2 separate regions of the Homo sapiens genome follow, and region 2 is linked to region 1. Evidence: promoter capture Hi-C in human tissues and cell types (Jung and others, 2019). All regions are on one chromosome and are shown on one strand. Each heading gives the region's core, a stretch centred on a gene start or on the middle of the fragment in contact. The rest is flanking DNA. Distances are from core to core; before and after follow the strand shown.

Region 1 (6,720 bases), core at 3,594-6,093:
TCCCCTGAGGGCGAGGCTGTTTGCTGCTGGGTTCCCGGGGCCCTGGGACCCCTAAGCACCAGCCTGTCTGGCTCCAGTGTCCCCCATTCCTCATGCTTGCAGATGCTCCCCAACGAAGGATTTTTTTCTTTCTTTCTTTAAGACAGGGTCTCGGCTGGGCACGGTGGCTCACGCCTGTAATCACAGCACTTTGGGAAGCCGAGGCGGGTGGATCCCGTGAGGTCAGGTGTTCAAGACCAGCCTGGCCAACATGGTGAAACCCCCGTCTCCAGGTTACACCCGAGGATGGAAGTCACAGGCTTCCGGCTCTGTGCCTCAGTTCCCCCCCTCAAACCCTGGTCTGACAGCAAGCCACCACTGTATTCAGCTTTGAGGGTCTGGAGTGATGGTCCCTCTGTTTGTGTAATATTTACAGAGGGTAGGAGGAAAGTTCCTTCGACCGTGACAAAGTTCAGAAGAAAATAAAGCAGGGCTGCCGAGGGGGCCTGTGCTTTGCTTGTCACCAGCAGGACGAGAAGCGGAAATCCAGCCACCTGGAGTTCCTCCATCCAGCCTCCTCAGCACCGCTGCCTGCTCCACTCACACCCACCACTTCTCTGCACAGCTGGCGCTCCTCCAGCCCTCTGTGCTTCTGCAAATGTCTCCTTCCTCCCTCCTTCCACACTCTCCCAGCCAACGTCAGGCCCTCAGAGCATTTTCCTGGTGCCCAGTTATTCTCCCTTCCTTTCTCCTGGAGGCCCCTGGCCACGAGGTATGGACCAGACCTCCTTCTGCAGGTCTCCTGAACCCGGCAGCCAGATGACACGAGAGCTCCACAGAGGCAGGGACTGACCTGTTCCTCCTCATGTCCCCAGGCCCCACACAGAGCAGCGCTACAGAAATCCATGAGCTGATGGGCAGTCTTAGCAGATCAAAGACAAAGGGCTGGGCAGAGAACCCCCGGGGCCACCTTTCCTGTTTCCTGTGCTGTGGTCGCTCTGCACACACTCCTGGCAGGGACACGCTGTATGCCCGACTCACACCCAGTGGTCCTCCTCCCCAGCTGCGGCCCCCAGCACAGAGCCTGTCGCACTGGCACCTGCCACAGTGACTGATCGAACGTGTCCGTGTGGCTGCGGTCTGGGGTCCCAAGCCTTGGAGGGGAAGCACACACAGGGCTCTCCAAACTGAGGGTTGGGACCCATGTACCCCGGGAAATCGGCTTAGTGGATTGCAATTGAAAAAAAAAAAAGGGTCAAGCCAGTGGCCCACACCTGCAATCTCAGCACTCTGGGAGGCCCGGGAGGGAGGATCGCTTGAGCCTGGGAGTTAATGAGACACCATCTCTACAAAGAATTAAAAAACGAACTGAGCGTGGTGGCATGTGCCTGTGGTCCCAGCTGTTCGTGAGGCTGAGGCAGGAGGATCGTTTGAGCCCAAGAGTTTGAGGCTGCAGTGAGCCAAGAGTGTGCCATGGGTGAGATCCCACCTCTGGAGAAAAAAAGAGAAATGAATCGGAAAAGTAGAGCCCCCTTTTATGTAATAAGGGCGGCTACTGCAACTTACTTTAGCTGTACCTGCACACCTGAGTGTGTACACTCTATCAGAGTACAAAACGTATTTCTTACTGCAGGTTGTGATGAAAAAATTGGAAAGCCACTAGGCTGCAGCGTCCTGGCTTTCCTCCGTGCCAGGACCCTCTTTACTCTGTAGTTCTCCTCTCCAGGCAAGCTGGCCTACCTTTCTCAGAACAAAAACACGAACGGGGGCTAACGTCTGTGCAGCGATGTTTACACAGATGATCTCATTTACCCTGTGAGGGTTGAGGGGCGTCTGGAGGACTGTGTGATCTTGGGTAAACGGCTCAACCTCTCTGGGCTTCAGTTCCTTCCTAGGTGAAGCTGGCTGTGTTGAGGATGCAGTGAGGCTTTGTGCACAGCGAGTGTGAGATGAAAGCGATCATCAGCTCCACTGAACAGACAGAGGAACCAAGTGACTGACGAGCCCTTCGGCAACAGTGAGGGTGCTGGGAGGGTTCAATTCAAGCTGCTGCACAGAGGCTTCCAGATACGCCCTGCAGCCCCCAGCACCACCGCACCACAACAGCTAACACGCACTCAGCACGCACCGCACACCGCGCACCGTTCTAAGTCCTTCGAGTTCATTTCCTCATTTTATCTTCACAAGAGTCCGAAGGGCTGCGGACTGTTCTTCATTCTGAGATGAAGACACTGAGGCTCACGCTTAACCCCCTGCTCCAGGTCACTTAGCTCTTAGTGGTGAAACCAAGGGTGTGGCCCTACAGCCCGAATCCCTGTGCCCTGGGAAAGCCGGTTCTATGGCCAGACCTGCCCCATCCTTACCTCCTAGCCCCATCCTCGATGGTCTCTCCTTCTTGCACTTTGCCCCCAAAGCCATTCCACCGGCCGGCCCCGAAGCCTCGCTTTTTCATGCCCAGGAGAACTCGCTGAGGCTGCAGGACCAGCACCAGGGTATAGAGCCTGGAGGCGCCCATGGTCCCTGGGTTCTGAAAGGAAGGTGAGAGGGCAGAGTCAGCCATGACGTGCGTGGAGGAAGCACGTGCCAGGGGCCAGGAGGAAGGGGACGTGCTCTGGGAGGCAGTGGGGGGCGGGGGGGTATGCTGTAACTCCCCAGCCCTGCCACGTGTGGCTTCCCTTGTGGCAGGTGGAAAACTGCCATTGAACCAGTGATTTTCTGGGGTAGAAACAGAACCCAGTGGTCAGCAGGGCTGATCAAGCAGAGCAGAGGCCGGCGCTACCTTCCTTCTCCACAAGTCAGTACTCAGGTGCAGAGGACAACATCACCTTTCCAGAGCGTGCTCTTGCTCCTGCGTCTACCCCCAGGAACCCCCTGCTTATAGGCACACAGTGAGGAACAACAGTCCCCGTGCCTGATTGGCACCAAAATAACCACGCAGTTTATCCTGTGGTCCTCAGGTCAGGCCTTTGGATTAACAGGAACTTCTTTCAGTCTAGTGGGACCTGGCCTCTCTGTAGCAGGCTTCCAGATTCCCAGGAAATGTGTGGCTGTAGACACAGGTCCACCCAGCCAGGCCCGGCTAGTCCTCCCTCCTGTGATAGGAGTTTATACCCCACCCACTCTGCTCCTGCTGTGGCTACTGTGGGACCTGGCACCCAGGGGGGCCACTGGAAGTCACAAGGGTCCTTCCTGCTCCCATAGGTGTGCAGGTCCAGGTCCAGAGGACTCTGAGGGCGATGCCTCCGCCAGGTCCCTGCTGAAAAAAGGACCCTGGAGAAATGCTGGAGGGCCAGGACCAACTTTCCTTTATTTATTTTGAGACAAGATCCTGCTCTGTTGCCCAGGCTGGAGGAGAGTGGCGTGATCGCGGTTCACTGTAACCTCCGCCTCCCTGGCTGAAGCCATCCTCCTGCCTCAGCATCCCACATAGCTGGGACCACAGGCATGAGCCGCCACACCCAGCTAATTTCTGTATTTTTAGTAGAGATGGGGTTTTGTCACGTTGCCCAGGCTGGTCACGAACTCCTGAGCTCAAGCGATCCACCCACCTCAGCCTCCCAAAGTGCTGAGATTACAGGCGTGAGCCACTGCGCCCAGCCAGGACCAACTTTTCTGGGGTCCACACCTGGACAAGACACAGGGTTCAGGACCAGTGATCCTTCTTGGAAGTTGTGGTGTCTGAGAAAAGGGACCAGATGATAAGGAAGGGGGCAGGGAAGTGCTGGGTAGAGGAGGGCGTGGTCTCTGGCCAGGGCTCCACACCCAGGCCTGTGCCCAGGGACCTGGGTGAGGACAGGCATTTCTGTTTTTTTGCCCAAATGTTGCATTTCCCGAGCCCGCCACGTCCCCGTCCTGTGCCTATAAAAAAACCCCAGTGGTTTTTTATAGTGGGCAGAGACACAAGCCGCTGGACGTCAAGAGGACGTGGAAAGCACACCAACAGGCACCAGCAGGCCATCAACTGATGGAACCATGAGTTTGGCAGGGGCGGTCAGAGGAGAGCCCAGGCTGCTCAGCAGCCCGACTCCAGGGGAAAATCACCTTCCCACTCCAACTGCCTTCTGGCTCCCCCATCTGCTGAGGGCTAATTCCACTCATAAAACCTTGCACTCACTCTCCAAGCCGCCGTGTGATCTGATTGCTCCAGTACATCAAGGCAAGAAACCTAGGGATACAGAAAGCCCTCTGTCCTTGCGATAAGGCAGGGAGTCTAACAGCTGACTAACACAAGCCACCTACAAGGCTAAACTGAAAGAGCACCCTCTAACACATGCCTGCTGGGGCTTCAGGAGCTGCAAACATTCACCCCTAGACACTGCCGTGGGGTGGGAGCCCCTCAGCCTGCCTGTCTGTATGTTCCCCTAGAGGCTTGAGAAGCGGGGCACTGAAGAAGTGAGCCACATCCTCATCGCACGCCCTTCGAGGAGGACAAGGGAACCTTTCCCATTTCACTGAGACTGGGTCCTGGTGGCGGAGGCAGGTCAGACAGGGTAAATGGGTTTGTGGCTTAGTTTCACACCAGGCCCGTGTACTTTGTCCCGACACTGATCTGTTTCTGCCAGAAGCCACGGTTTCCAAAGTAAATTTTTGTGATTTACTCCTGGTCTCCCCCAAGCCTCCGCCCCGCTCTCCTTGTCTCTCTCCCAAACCCCCGGCCCCGCTCTCCTCGTCTCCCTCGAGCCCCCGACCCTGCTCTTCTGGTCTCCTTCGAGCTCCCGGCCCCGCTCTCCCCCAAGCCCATGGCTCAGCTCCCCTAGTCTCCTGCCGCCCGCTGGCCCGGCTCCCCTCCCTGGTCACCACGACTCCTGGAATCCCCGCGCGCGCTTTTCGTACCTGCACCGCCGCTTCCGGGGGCGTGGCCTCTGACCGGAAGTGAGGCCAGGCACTTCCGGCGGCGCGCTGCAGGCGCGGGGAACACCAATGGCGGGGTGAGCTGGGCGCTGCTGCTGCGCGTGCAGACAGCGGGAGTGGTTGGGGGTCCGCCCGGTCGCCTTCCTCGGTCCTGGCCTCGGGGCTGGGTGCCGAGCGCTGGGCACCGTCCCCGCACTCAGCGAGCGCGACAGGGGCGAGGCCAGGATTCCGGGTCGCAGTTCCCCGGGAGGAGGGCGCCCTCAGGTCTCCAGGGGCAGGGCCGGCGGGGCCGTGGGGAGGCCGGGGCCGGCGGCGGAGTCCAGGTGGGGGGCGCAGCGCCGGGGCCCAGATCCAAGGCGCCGGGGGCGAGCCCGGGGCGGGATTTCGCTTCTGGGCCGGGTAGCTCCATTGCCCGCGCTTCCTGGGCTGTCGAGTGGGCCCTGGCCCCCGGGACCGGCTTGTGCCATTTTCCCGGGAGACCCCTTAAGCGAGGGGAAGACAGCGACTCACGGTCAGCAGTCAGTGCCTCCTGGCTTGTCAGCACGCTTTGGTGTTGCAGAAGCTAGAAGCTTTGGCCTTGGAGCCATGAGGGTGGTAACTTTTATTTATTTATTTAAATCAGAAAGATGGACATAGAGACCGGGCTTGGTGGCCCACACCTGTCATCCCAGCACTTTGGAAGTCTGAGGCAGGAGGATCGTTTGAGCCTAGGAGTTCGAGACCAGCCTAGGCAATGTAGTGAGATGCCATCTCTAAAAAAGGTTTTTAAGAATTAAAAAAAAAAAAAAAATTAGCCCAGGCATGGTGGTGCACACCTGTAGTCCCAGCTACTCAGGAGGCTGAGGTGGGAGGTTCACTTGAGACCCAGAGGTTATGGCAGCAATCAGCTGTGATTGTGCCACTGCAACTCCAGCCTGGATGATAGCAAAACAAAAATGGCCGGGTGAGGTGGTTCACGCCTGTAATCCCAGCACTTTGGGAGGCCAAGGTGGGCTGATCGCCAGAGGTCAGGAGTTCGAGACCAGCTCGGCCAACATGGTGAAATCCCATCTCTACTGAAAATAGAAAAATTAGCCGGAAGTGGTGGCACACACCTGTAGTCTCAGCTACTCAGGAGGCTGAGGTGGGAGGTTCACTTGAGCCCCAGAGGCTGTGGCTGCAGTCAGCTGTGATCATGCCACTGCACTCCAGCCTGGGTAATAGTAAAACCCTGTCTCTAAAAAAACAAAAAGAAGAAAGAAATGCCTGGGTGCAGTGGCTTACACCTGTAATCCCAGCACTTTGGGAGGCCAAGGCGGGCAGATCAGCGGAGGTCAGGAGTTTGAGACCAGCCTGGCCAACATGGTGGAACCCATCTATACTGAAAATACAAACATTAGCCGGACATGGTAGCAGGTGTGCCTGTAATCCCAGCTACTTGGGAGGCTGGGGCAGGAGAATTGCTTGAACCCGGGAGTCGGAGGCTGCAGTGAGCTGTCACTGCACTCCAGCCTGGGCGCCAGAGTGAGACTCCGTCTTAAAAAAAGAAAAAGAGGACATAGAACTTCCTTGGTGAGGTTGTTGTCAGAGTTAAACAAGGGGAGGTGTGTATAGCTTCCACCTGCTTAGCTATTGTGGGCTGTGAATAAATTGTTACATTTATTGTAACAATTGTCTAGAGAATCTTGGAAATTGTCCTTCAACGATTGACACAGGTTTAGTTCAATTTTATTTAAGACATGTAGGTGAGAGGATTGTTTGAGCCCAGGAGTTCGAATCTGCGTTGAACCGTGACCTCACCACTGCACTCCAGCCTGGGCTATAGAGCGAGACCCTGTCTCGAAAAAAAGAAGAAAAAAAGAAATGTGACAGGCCAGACCCTCTGTACTAGCTGTCAAAGCCCTGGAACTA
Region 2 (7,589 bases), core at 4,992-7,491, 370 kb before region 1:
TCGGATCGGAGTGGGAGCATCCCTCAGGGTCAGAAAGGGAGGAGCATCAGGCTTAGGAGGTGGGAGGATGAGGCAGGGGCTGAGATTGGGAGGCCGCTGAGCTTGGCATTGGAGGGTGGTTCTGCAGGCTGAGGCTGAGGGGTGAAGAAGGCCCTGGTTTCATTCTGGGACAGTTCAAATAGAAGTGGGGGATTCCCCTTCCCCCAAAAAAATTATCCTTCATGGCCTGGTGGCTCACACCTGTCATCCTAGCACTTTAGGAGGCTGCGGTGGGAGGATCGCTTGGGCCCAGGAGGTCGAGGCTGCAGTGAGCTATGATTGCACCACTGCACTCCAGCCTGGGTGACAGAGCAAGACCCTGTCTCTACAAAAATAAAAATGAGGCCTGGCGCGGTGGCTCACAGCTGTAATCCCAGCATTTTGGGAGGCTGAGATGGGTGGATCACTTGAGGCCAGGAGTTCTAGACCAACCTGGCCAACATGGCAAAACCCCGTCTCTACTAAAAATACAAAAACTAGTTGGGCGTGGTGGTGTGGGCCTGTAGTCTCAACTACTCAGATGGCTGAGGCACGAGAATCGCTTGAGCCCGGAGGCGGAGATGGCAGTGAGCCGAGATCGCGCCATTGCACTCCAGCCTGGGCGACAGAGCGCGACTCCGTCTCAAAAAGAAAAGGAAAAAGAATGAAAACATTAGCCAGGTATGGTAGCACACACCTGTAGTCCCAGCTACTTGGGAGGCTGAGGCCAGAGGATTGCTTGAGCCCAAGAGGTCAAGGCTGCAGTGAGCTGTGATTGTGCCACTGCACTCCAGCCTGGGGTGCAAGATCTTGTCTGTAAAATCAATAAATACATAAAATTTTTAAAGTATCCTTCACAAAAGAGGGAGCTGCCTTCTTAAGTCCTTAGAAAGTATCTCATAGCATGAGGCTCTCAATTAGTTTATTTTGACAGCCACACACTGTTTGGGAACCGACGGAGGAGTCTGAAAGCTGGGAGCAATGTGTATGGAGGTCGCCTGGCAGAATCCACTAAAAAGATGTCAGAAATAAATTTAACTCAGATTAGTCATTTTTCCAGGAGCAGAACCTCACATTTGCAAGCATTGGCTGTCTTTGTGAATCAGACTTTAAAACGTTTAAAAATACAGCCAGCGGTTCCACTGTGGAAACGCGATCATAAAGTGACACCACCTGGACCACCGTCCTCAGGTCCAGCACACCGGCACTCGTGGCTTGGGGAGAAATGCTCCAATCATGGCACACCCTGTTCAGAATTTTTTTTTTTGGGACAGAGTCTTGCTCTGTCGCCCTGGCTGGAGTACAATGACGCGATCTCAACTCACTGCGACCTCCACTTTCTCCGGTTCATGCAATCATCCCACCTCAGCGTCCCAAAGAACTGGGACCACAGGTGCATGCCACCATGCCCAGCTCATTTTTGTATTTTTGTAGAGAAGGGGTTTCACTATGTTATCCAGGCTGGTCTCACACTCCTGGATTCAAGCCATCTACCCGCCTCGGCCTCCCAAAGTGCTGGGATTACAGGCGTGAGCCGCTGCGCCCGGCAGGAGCAGATTTCTCAGCCGTCACGTGGATTGCAAACAGCTTAGATGGAAGTGGAGATGTCGTGCACGGGAAACTGTGTTAGAGGATCCAAAACATGGGGACGAAGCTGCTGGTGCAGCCAAGTCCTGGGAGCACCACCAGAGGCATGCTCCTAGATCAGTGTCTTCTTTTAGCTATGACTTGAAATATGCATGATGTGTGACCAAATTAACATATTAATTATTCACAAGTTGGCATCTGACACTTTCGTCCACACCTATAAAAAGCTCACACTTTCAAGTTGGCTGGATGGGTTTTCTTTTTTGCAGTCTCCTCTTTGGAAAAGTGGAGCCTCACATAGCTCAGGCTGGCTTGAGCTTCAAGTGCGCGCGCGTGTGTGTGCATGTTTGTGTGTGTGTGTGTGCGCGTTTTATGTGTATGTATGTTGTCATGTGTGTGTGCCTGTGTGTACGTGTGTGGGATGCAAATTTGTGTATGTTTCTGCCCTTGCAGGTGTGTTTGCATGCATGTTTGTATGTTTGCATGTGGGTTTGTGTGTATTTGTACGTGTTTGTGTGCACGTCTGTGCGAAGTGTGTGTGTGTCTGAGAGTGCATGCATTGGTGTGTGCATGTTGGTTTTGTGTGTGTTTTCAAGTTTGCATTGTTTCATGTGTGGGCATGTGTTTGCAGGCATATGTCTGCTCATGTGCAGGTGTTTGCATGTATGTTGCATTGTGGTGTTTTGTGTGTGCACGTGTCTTTGTGTGCGTGGACATGCAGCAGTCTGGCATGTTCAGGAGTTCAATTTTGTCTTGGAGCCCGTGGGAACTGTCTGGTGGGGTCACTTGGCCTCACTGCAGATGTGGCAGCAGAGTTGAGGGCTGCTGAGGGGGTAGCCCCTGTGGGGCCTGGTGAGAACGGGCAGGGAGACGGGGATGATCTCTAGGTTTCTGGCAGGGACAACCATGTGGCTTGTGATGTGGTTTACTGAACAGGGAGCAGGTCATGAGGGAAGATAAATTGAAGCCGAGCCAAGCTGAATTGGAGGCATCTGAGACAAGAACGTGCGGACGCCCAGTGGACGATCCAGGCAGGCTGGGGTGTTGGGGACGGAGCCGTGGATACACCCATACTCAACAGGCAGAGGGTAGGACCGGGTGCCAGAGCAGAAGAGAAATCCCGAAAGCAGGGAGGAGTGATGAGGCGGGAAGGGTGCACTCTCGGGCGAGGGTAGCAGGAGCGGTGAGCATAGTGGAGCCAGCAGCCCACAGGGTGCTGGAGGGGGAAGTGGGTGAGAGAAGGGAATGGGGCGGGGCGAGGCTGCAATGAGCGGGAACCAGCTCCCTTTGTATATTTTATGCGAGCTTCGCCCCAGCCCACCCACTCACACCCTTCCCTGCTTTCATTCCTTTGCGAGCCGGGCCTGGGAAGGGAAGGGCTGGTGGGGAGGAAGCCCCCAGACAGGGCTGCCATGAATGGCAGCCGTGGGAGCCCTGGCAGCGCTGGACTCTGTCCTTTGAATCCCAGGCTGCTCTGGGACTTAATTAACGAATAGCTCAGGGGCACCCTCTCCTCTTATTCAGAAAGGGACACAGCACCATGGTAACGTCCCCAGGTTCCTGAGGCAGGCCCCATCTAATGGGGCTGGCCCTCGGGGCTGACACTGGGCCCTGCTCCCGGGATCCAGTGGGGAGGTGCTGGCCAAAGGCCATTAGCTGGCACCCACGCAGAGACACGCCACCCTGTTCTGCAGCCCGTCATTCATATTCCAAGCCCGACAGCAGTGCTGAAAGGAGCGAGGGACTCAGAGGCTTACTTCTTTTTTTTCCTATGTCCCCCAGGGACCTTGGAGGAATCTCATATTTAAAACTGTCTTGGCAAGAGCTTGTGGTGACCCTCACTCGGTCTTTGAGGAGGCCCTCATGCACTCAGCGCACGTCTGGGAGCACCAAAAACCAGAGGGCTGGATGGGGAAGAGGAAGAGGGTTCTCCCCGTGTGCCTGTGCGCGTGCGCATGGATGTCCACGCTCACATACTTCCATGTCTATCCATACCCCGGCCCACGGTGGGTGGAGGCCTGAGGTTGGACCTTCTCTCTCCTCCTCTCGCCAGTTCTAGCTGAGAAGCCCCCACAGGCTGCCTCCTCTCTGCTCCTGGGTCTGAACCCCTAGGGGAGATCACAGCTGGCGACTGCGGGGGCAGCGAGCTTGCAGCGGGCGAGTGCCTGGTGCACCATGCTCTCCAATGCCACAGGCTCCCTCAGGCCCTACCAGCTCGTCTGCAAAGTGCAAGTCTGCAAATGAACCGCTTGCCAGGACAGCACACAGGCCATCGGAGTGTAAAGATGGGCTCGGGGCAGGCCACGGTGGCTCGCACCTGTAATTCCAACACTTTGGGAGGCCAAGGTGGGAGGATCGCTTGAGGCGAGGCATTGGACACCAGCCTGGGCAACATAGCAAGGCCCCATCTCTACCAGAAAAATATATTTTATTTATTTATTTATTTATTTATTGAGATGGAGTTTTGCTCTTCTTGCCCAGGCTGGAGTGCAATGGCTCACTGCAACCTCCACCAAAATAAAATTTTATTTATTTATTTAGACGGAGTTTTGCTCTTCTTGCCCAGGCTGGAGTGCAATGGCTCGCTGCAACCTCCACCTCCCGGGTTCAAGTGATTCTCCTGCCTCAGCCTCCTGAGTAGCTGGGATTACTGGCATGTGCCATCACGCCCGGCTACTTTTTGTATTTTTAGTAGAGACGGGGTTTCACCATGTTGGCCAGGCTGGCCTCGAACTCCTGACCTCAGGTGATTCACTGCCTCAGCCTCCTAAAGTGCTGGGATTACGGGCACGAACCACTGTGCCCCACCCCTCAAATTTTGTATATTAGCCAGGTGCGTACCTGTAGTTTCAGCCACTTGGGAGGCTGAGGTGGGAGGATCACTTGGGCCTAGTAGTTCGACTAGCCTGGGCAACTTAGCAAGTCCTCATCTCTACAGAATTTTTATTTTTATTTTTTTGAGACAGAGTCTCGCTCTGTCGCCCAGGCTGGAGTGTAATGGCGCCATCTCGGCTCACTACAACCTCCACCTCCCAGGTTCAAGCAATTCTGCCTCAGCCTCCCGAGTAGCTGGGACTACAGACGCACGCCACCATGCCCGGCTAATTTTTGTATTTTTAGTAGAGATGGGGTGTCACCATATTGGCCAGGCTGGTCTTGAACTCCTGACCTCGTGATCCGCCTGCCTTGGCCTCCCAAAGTGCTGGGATTACAGGCGTGACAGAAATTTTTTAAAAAGTGGTTGGGCACAGTGGTGCACACCTATAGTCCCAGCTATCTGGGAGGCTGAGGCAAGAGGATTGCTTAAGCCCAAGAGTTTGAGGCTGCAGTGAGCTATGACTGCACCACTGCACTCCGGCCAGGGCAAGACAGCAAGACCCTATCTCAATTTAAAAATATACATATATTTTCACACACACACACACACACACACACACACACATATAAGATCGATAGAGAGAAAATAGGCTTGGGCAAATGCCAGAGCCAACCACAGTAACTGTGGAGGCTTCGGACAAACTCCACTCAGGATTTAGGGCCCCAGGGCAGGCAGCCACAAGCACACAAAGCCACAGATGCTCCTTGTTCTATGCAACAAAATATTGGAAAACAAAACCCAGATATCAGCTCCTTTTGGTCGTTTCCATCTGTGTTTGATTCCTCAGTAAATTATTCTTTCCCTGCTCCTGAAACAAAAATGAAATCAAATATGGAGAAATAACTCCCTCACGCACGCACATTTTTGTGTCCTCATATCTAAGGAATAGATATTCGACGGGGGACCGGGGTGTCAACAGATGTATCCGAGTTCATGCGTGGCAGGGAGCTGGCGGCGGGACCCGTCCCTCCAGCTGGCTCTCCAACCCCAAGCCTGCATTACGACCACGGCAAAATGCCAGAAGCCCAGAGAAGCGGGGTTTCTGAAGCGGATCGTTTGTTCAGCCCGAGTGCGTGGGGCAGGAACACACCTGGAGGTCATTAAAGAGAAGTCTTCACGGGGCACTCAAGGCACACTGCAAAACAACTTTTTATTTAAAAGGCCAATAATGAGAATAATGAGTTGCACAAGAATGAAAACCTTATCCCTTCCAAAAGATCGGCCTATACATTATGTATAAAGTTAGAATAATTCTAAATACAAAATGCCAAAGACCAGCGGGTCCACTCCTTCCTCTCCTAAGCCATCTTGACAGTTTCACATTTCAGCTTCCAGACGTCATTTCTGTTGCTTTTAAGGGTGCTTACCCAGCCGTGGTCTGTACCAGACAGGGTAGTTGGCACAGCGTAGGCACTGCCAGCAGGCCCTTGGGAGCTTGGCGAGGTGGGAGCCTTGAGAAATAGCTGGCTCGGACCCATGGCGGGGTTTGTGTGTCAACTCCCTGGTCCTCAGAGAATCCGAGCCACGGGAGAGCAAACGCTGCTTCCAAAACCAAAGGAGGAATTTTGCAATCGTTTAGACGGGTTATAATAGAATCTCATTCAGATCTTGAAGGTTATCGGTGCTTTCTGCAGGTTTTTATTCCTCAAAAATGCAGCCAAGCTTTGCTGTGCTTATCTTGGTGGATCTGAGCTAGGTTGGGCTATCTTTTCCTAATTCAATTGCCTTTTTTTTGCAAGGAAGGGGGTTTCTGGTCCATCGGAGGGATCAAGGGCATGGTCCTCACGTCTCGTCAGGAGACAAAAATAGACATTCAGCAGACAGACCACAGCCAGCGCATGCGACCAGCGTCGTTTGGCTATTTTAGTCTCTTCTTAATACACAGACAAACGAGCAAAGAAAAAGCTACTTTGTCCAACACCGGGCCCTGGGTTGGAGTTTAGCCCTGCTTGGCTCTGCCCGCTAGTCTCAGTCAGGTCACTCACCCCAGGCCTGCGGGAACGGTGGTCTTGGTGGTCTTCTCTGGCCCTTCCACCTCTTCTGCCTTGTGGGGACCACCCAAGCCCTCTCCCGACTTGCCCAGAGGCTGCACGCCTCTCTGGCATCACAGTCCGCACGGAGCCTGGCTGTAAGGCTCCACTGAAATCCCCCCGGCGCTGGCTTCGTGCCCCAGGCACACCCACCTCACTTCTGCCTCTTTTCTGCTGGTTTCTGGCCTGTTTGGTCCCAGCCCCTCCCTGCACTCTCTCCGCAGCTGTCTGGTGGGTGATGTGAACCAAGGGACACCCAGGGTCATGGCACTGCCTGGATTCAGTTTGGTAATCGTCGGCAGTCTGTCCCTGGCTTCTGAGCCTGGGGCCTCCTCCTCTTTCTCCCCATCCTGGATGAGCAGGACACGCTGGGGAGACAGCGTCCTACAAAGGCCTCCTAAGAGCTGTGCCCTGTGCCAGGAAAGCCTCCTGTATCTCCAAGGATGTCCCTGGAGCCCTCCAGCTGGTGCCTCTGCTGAGGTCTGTGAGCAGCGGGAATAGGCCTCTAGGGGAGGAGTTGGGGACAGGCCTCTAGGGGAGAGCACACCTCCGGGTACTGCACCTGTGGCTCACCAGCCACCTGCACGGGGCCAGCTTCAGCCTCAGCAGTGTCAGCTCAACAGACGTGACTGCTGTCAACACAGTGGGGCCAGGCCCTGGAGACTGACATCTCCTGTGGCTGCTTGTTTAAAGGGCATGGGATAGAGAAAGAGTGTGTTATTTTAAAGCTGGACTACCTAACAGCCTCTGATAGCAGATACAGCTTTGCTGCTGTTCTTGAAGTTCAAGGTGATGTGGAGGTGTTGCAGTGACAATCAGTACACCGTGAACAACACCTGCCACCAACGTCGACCCTGAAGTGGTAGATGGGGCCTGCTTTGGCACTTGACGCTGGGGCAGGAGTCCCTTTCTTGGGGACTCACTCTCTACTTCGTCTCCCCCGGGAGTTGTCTACTTTCCTAGGCCCTGCCAGCAGCCCCCACAGCTCCGCCCAGCCCACTCCACCAGCTTGCTGCTCCCATGGCTCAGCCCCACTCACAGCTCACCCCTCCCATGGCTAGGCCCCATCCACAGCT

What was found. The method cuts DNA at HindIII sites, captures the fragments that hold promoters and counts their contacts. A contact is called where the count stands out against the background at its distance.
Region 2: a fragment that was not itself captured here is called in contact with the fragment with the promoter of NUDT1 in region 1 in 1 of the 25 tissues and cell types used here (stomach).

Annotation. Positions count from the first base shown.
Region 1 is chr7:2,240,349-2,247,068 of GRCh38, reverse strand. NUDT1 (nudix hydrolase 1) reads right to left here and starts at 4,843. Exons shown (of 4, transcript NM_002452.4): 1 at 4,813-4,843; 2 at 2,343-2,506. The coding sequence starts at 2,494. MRM2 (mitochondrial rRNA methyltransferase 2) reads left to right here and starts at 4,864. Exons shown (of 3, transcript NM_013393.3): 1 at 4,864-4,907. The coding sequence starts at 4,900. RefSeq lists enhancers at 1,064-1,113, 5,480-6,331 and a silencer at 4,938-5,157. The HindIII fragment of the contact is 10,120 bases long and covers 105-6,720 here.
Region 2 is chr7:2,612,754-2,620,342 of GRCh38, reverse strand. IQCE (IQ motif containing E) reads right to left here. Exons shown (of 22, transcript NM_152558.5): 22 at 5,615-7,589. LOC107986760 (a long non-coding RNA gene) reads left to right here. Exons shown (of 3, transcript XR_001745069.2): 2 at 2,542-2,693; 3 at 5,367-5,760. Among named protein-coding and RNA genes, the nearest start is that of TTYH3, 15 kb to the left of the region's middle. The HindIII fragment of the contact is 7,391 bases long and covers 2,546-7,589 here.